2 separate regions of the Homo sapiens genome follow, and region 2 is linked to region 1. The links are contacts of gene promoters, found by promoter capture Hi-C in human tissues and cell types (Jung and others, 2019). All regions are on one chromosome and are shown on one strand. The core of a region is centred on a gene start or on the middle of the fragment in contact, and the rest is flanking DNA. Distances in the headings are between cores, read along the strand shown.

Region 1 (2,700 bases), core at 195-2,694:
TCTCTCACATCTGTCAAAAGTCCCCCATAAGCCACAGGTGAATGCCACACAGGTACAGAGCAACTGAACCAAAGCCTTACTCCCCCAAGTCATGAATCCCTCACCTCCTTGAGCCGGGCAATAGCATCTCCTATCTCTGGGTGCCCCATCTCATCCTCAGTCAGCACCCTAACGATCTGGGAGAAGTGCTGAACGAAATCCTGCTTTTCTTGGGCATAAACATCTGAATTCTGGTCTCCGTTCATTCTGAGGGAGGAGCAAAGGGCTCTAAGTAGAAGAAAAACAAGTCAGAAACCTGATCAGCTGCTCCCCTCCCCAAGGCCCCTCACCCCAACCACACTCACCGAGGTTCCTCTGTCCACGCTTGGCACCAGCAGCGGGCACTGTGCCAGGCCAGGACTGGGTACCCGTGCACCAGGGAGGGCCGCCGTAGGGAACCCAGCCACCTCTCCCGGGGTGCCCAGTAGGGGGCTGGCAGCAGGAAGACCCCCACAGATCTCAACCAGCGGGACAGGGGCATCCTGGGAGTGGCATAGGGAGGGGGCACTAAGCACTCCCTGCAGGGGCAAGCACCAAAGGCAGAGGCATGGTGGCAGCTCCCCAGATAACTCCCACCCCAGCCTTAGCCCAGAGTGCCCCTCCCTCTTGTGGAATGTGCTTGGGGACAATTACAGGAAGGATACGCAGGGAACAAAAAAGTATGGCTGGGTGACTGAGACCCAACTAATCACCACTTACAATAAACAGGCTAGAACTCAGTGCCTTCAAGATGGCGTGCACAAGGCTGGGTAAGGAGGCGGTACAGAGTAAAGTACCCCAGGATTAGGGGCTGAAAGGACCCTTAAGTCATCCTATTTTACACAAGCCAAACTGAGGCTCTAGGAGGTAGGAAGATAGTAGAGGCAGAGCCAAATCTAGAACCCAGGTCTCCCCTGGGCAGTGGAGAGGGGTGCCCAGGGTCTGAGTTACGCCCCAAGGAGGAAAGAAGCATTGGAGCGAGAACCCATGGGTGCTGCATCCATATGGTCCGGGGTGCTTGAACCGCGCGTCCCAAGCCCCACAGGAATCGCTAGGACTGAGCAGATAGGCTCGGAGCAACTCTGGACGGGAGAGAAGGGCTCGCAGCAAAGGAGTAAACCGGGGTCCGGGCATATTGGGGATTCCAGGAAAGCACAAGGGCAGAGTTGGGAAGTCTCCACACCCCTAGAAGGCCAGCCAGTCTAGCCCACCGACCTTCAAAACGGACACAACAGGCTGGCCTTCCGATGCCTCACAGTATCGTTACAGAAGTAAGGCCCGGTCTCGGCCCCCTTCCTCCAAGGCCCAGCACACATCCTCTCTCACCTGTTCCCAGATACGGATTCCTGCTCGGTCCCGCTTGTTGGCGGGTACTCCTAAAAGCAGAATCCGCTCCGCGATCGGCTCTGTGGGTCGAGTAGTTCCCGCTCTCCCCACACTAAGGGCGGAAATATATAATTAGACTACAACTCCCAATGTGCCCGCGGGAGGGACAGATAACGCGATCCTGCGTGTCCTGGCTGGGCGAAGATGAGCCGCGCTGATTGGCTGCTGGCCGTCGTGTGAGCATGGCGCACTGTGGCACTGTGACGGACGACCAATGGAAGGGCTGAAGTCTAGAGGTCGCGGCTGGAGGCGTCAGTGCCGGAAGCGAGCCAGGCTGGGAACGTCCCCGCTGTGGCTTTGGCTGCCTGTCTTACTCAAGTTTTCATTATCTTCCTGGGCAGCTGATTGGCACGTTAGTAAAACGCAGCAGGACTAGCTTTCTCACTTATTAGTTCTCTAACTTTAGGCAAATCATTTAACGTCTCTGATCCTCAGTGAACTTGCTTGAAACTAGCTTTCCTCATCTGTTGAATGAGGGTGGTAATACCATGAGGTAATGTGTGCAAAGTGCTTTAAGGGCTTAAGAAAGATGAGTCTTGGGCCGGGCACGGTGGCTCACGCCTGTAATCCCAGCACTTTGGGAGGCCGAGGCGGGTGGATCATGAGGTCAGGAGTTCGAGACCAGCCTGACCAATGTGGTGAAACCCCGTCTCTACTAAAAATACAAAAAAAAAAAATTAGTCGGGCGTGGTGGCGCGCGCCTGTAATCCCAGCCACTCAGGAGGGCTGAGGCGGGAGAATCGCTTGAACTCGTAAGGCAGAGGTTGCAGTGAGCTGAGATCCAGCGAACCACTGCACTCTAGCTGGGGAGACAGAGCAAGACTCCGTCTCAAAAAAAAAAAAAAAAAAAGATGAGTCTCACACTTGTAATTCCAGCACTTTGGGCGGATCACCTGCGGTCAGGAATCTGAGACCAGCCTGGTCAACATGGCAAAACCCCTTCTCTACTAAAAATACAAAAATTACCCAGGTGTGCTGGTCCGCGCCTTAATTCCAGCTACGTGGGAGGCTGCAACCTCGCTTCCCGGGTTCAAGTGATTCTCCTGGATTACAGGTGCCTGCCAGCATGCCCAGCTAATTTTTGTGTTTTTAGTAGAGAGGGGGTTTCTCCAGATTGGCCAGCCTGGTCTCGAACTCCTGACCTCAAGTGATCCAGCCACCTCGACCTCTGAAAGTGCTGGGATTACAAGTACGAGCCACTTGGCCCAGGCAGTTATTTATTGATTATAAGCTAAACAAGGGTTGGATTATTCATGCCTCTGCTTTGTAGACCATATACAGTTAACTCCCTGATGT
Region 2 (2,814 bases), core at 67-2,566, 310 kb before region 1:
CTATTCTAGGCATACAAAAACCCAACAGACAGTGGAGGTTAGTGAAAGACCTCTGAATTATCATTGAGGCAGTTGTTCCCCTGTATCCAGTGCCAGGACCAGCTTGGTCAGGGAGACCCTAACCCAGCAGCACTAGAGGAATTAAAGACACACATACAGAATATAGAGGTGTGAAGTGGGAAATCAGGGGTCTCACAGCCTTCAGAGCTGAGAGCCCTGAACAGAGATTTACCCACGTATTTATTAACAGCAAGCCAGTCATCAGCATTGTTTCTACAGATATTAAATTAACTAAAAGTATCCCTTATGGGAAATGAAGGGATGTGCCAAATTAAAGGAATAGGTTGGGCTAGTTAACTGCAGCAGGAGCATGTCCTTAAGGCACAGATCACTCATGCTATTGTTTGTGGCTTAAGAATGCCTTTAAGTGGTTTTCTGCCCTGGGTGGGCCAGGTATTCCTTGCCCTCATTCCGGTAAACCCACAACCTTCCAGCATGGGCTTTATTGCCATCATGAACATGTCACAGTGCTGCAGATATTTTGTTTATGGCCAGTTTTGGGGCCAGTTTATGACCAGATTTGGAGGGGCTTGTTCCCAACAATCCAGTTGTACCTAATCCTTATACTCTACTCTCCCAGATACCAGAGGAAGCAGAATGGTTTACAGTCCTAGATCTTATGGACGCTTTCTTCTGCATCCCTCTGCATCCTAACTCGCAATTTTTATTTGCCTTTAAAGATCTGTCAAACCCAGCATCTCAGCATACCTCGACTATCCTGCCATTCATTTTCAGGGCTAGGATACTAGGAGGTCTAGGAACTGGCATTGGAGGCATTACCACCTCCACCCAATTCTCTTACTGTTGGGGAAAAGCTGAGTGTTGGGAAAAAAGCTGAGTGTTGGGGAAAAAGCTGAGGCAGGGCTTGCATGTCTGATATAATGTAAAAGAGTCTTAGAACAGGTCCAGGGTCCAGGGTCCAGGGTCTAAAACCCCTTGTGGCCTTTGGAACACCAAGCTCTGTGCCAAAGGGTGAAAGGCTGCCCTGCTGCACCACACTCTAAGCCAAGGGCATAAAACCCCTCATGGCTTGAATGGAATCCAGGGCTCAGGGCATAAAACCCCTTGTGGCCTCTGGAATGTGTCTAGATTTGCTGGCTCCTTGTTTCTAGCCCTCCCAGGCTCATAGATCGATTGTGTCTTAAACTAGAAGAACATGTTCCCCATTATCTCAAGTAGCAGAACATGTTCCATATGCTTCAAAGAAAATGCTAAACTGTCACAGCTGTAGATCACACACTTGATACACTGCTTTCTTTGAACCCCCACATCCTCACCACCTGCTTCTTTGTTTGATCACCAATAAATAGTGCAGGCTTCAAGAGCTCAGGGCCTTCACAGCCTCCATACTAGCATTGACCCCCTGGTCCCACTTCTTGCACTCTTAACTTATCTCATTCCTTTGACTCCGCCGGACTTCGTAGCCCCCACAGCCTGGTGTTGGGTCTGATCACCCCAACATATTACAAATTATCACAAGAGTTAAATGATGACATGGAACGAGTTGCAGATTCACTGGTCACCTTACAAAGCTAGCTTAACTCTTTAGCAGCAGTAGCCCTCCAGAATTGGAAAGCCTTAAATTTATTAACAGCTGAAAGAAGTGGAACCTGTCTTTTTCTAGGAGAAGAGTGTTACTATTTTGTTAATCAATACAGAATTGTCACCAAAAAAGGTTAAGGAGCTTCGAGACCAGATACAGTGCCAGGCACAAGAGCTCCAAGACACAGGACTTTGGAGTATTGTCAACCAATGGATGCCCTGGTTTCTCCCCTTCTTGGGACCCTTGGTGGCTATTGTGATGTTGCTTATCTCTGGACCCTGCATTTTTAACCTCCTTGTAAAATTTGTCTCTTCCAGAATAGAATCCATGAAACTGCAAATGATTCTACAGATGGAGCCCCAAATGACCACCACTAGCACCTGCTATCGAGGACCCCTAGACTGACCCACCAATCTGTTCTTGCACCATGACACTGAAGACTCCCCTCCTGAGGAAGGCTCAACTGCAGAGCCCCTTCTACACCCCAGCTCAGCAGGAAGTAGCTAGAATGATTGTTGCCCAACTTCCCAACGGCACTTGGGCTTTCCTTTTGAGAGGAGGGACTGAGGGACTAAGTGGCTAAGTTGGCTGGACTTCCTGGGTCAATAGGGACTTCCCTAAGGGAACTTTCCCCTAAGCCAAAATGAGTTATAGCTGCAAACTAAGGGATTGAACCTTCAACCAATCATATAGGGAGTTTAAGCTCTAGCTGCAGCCTGATGTTTTTAACCAATCATGCCCACCTACCCACAAGTGGATAGAAAATAAGCTAATTCTATAGGACAGAAAAAGAAAAAGGGGAGGGGTCATAAGGGGATATAAGTATAAGACACCCAAGCCAAAAATGGCAGCCCTTTCAGGTCCCCTTCCACCATGTGGAAACTTTACTTTCACTTTAATAAATCTTGCCACTGCCAAAAAAAAAAAAAAAAAAAAAGATTAAATAGAATTGTCTATAGGATTTCATTAAAATTGGGGTTAACATTAATAGCAGACTTATGCAAGGGTAAAATTTGGCTTTCTCTCTTGAACAGGATTTTTATGTAATAGTAAAGGCTAATCAAAGCATTTTGCTTTTTCAAATTTTTGAGTCATCCTTTTGGCAAAACAAATGACTTATGGTAATCTAAAATTCTATTTCATAATATCAAGAGTTTTAAACCTGTAAGGGCCAGTCATGGTGGCTCACGCCTATAATCCCAGCACTTTGG

What was found. The method cuts DNA at HindIII sites, captures the fragments that hold promoters and counts their contacts. A contact is called where the count stands out against the background at its distance.
Region 2: a fragment that was not itself captured here is called in contact with the fragment with the promoter of FDPS in region 1 in 1 of the 25 tissues and cell types used here (heart left ventricle).

Annotation. Positions count from the first base shown.
Region 1 is chr1:155,307,610-155,310,309 of GRCh38, reverse strand. It overlaps FDPS (farnesyl diphosphate synthase), which reads right to left and starts at 1,444. Exons shown (of 11, transcript NM_002004.4): 1 at 1,345-1,444; 2 at 345-521; 3 at 105-267. The coding sequence starts at 520. It also overlaps a transcript of PKLR not described here. RefSeq lists enhancers at 1,085-1,254, 1,585-1,714, 2,617-2,686. The HindIII fragment of the contact is 6,116 bases long and covers 1-2,700 here.
Region 2 is chr1:155,621,743-155,624,556 of GRCh38, reverse strand. It overlaps the pseudogene LOC100419798. Among named protein-coding and RNA genes, the nearest start is that of MSTO1, 13 kb to the right of the region's middle. The HindIII fragment of the contact is 8,414 bases long and covers 1-2,814 here.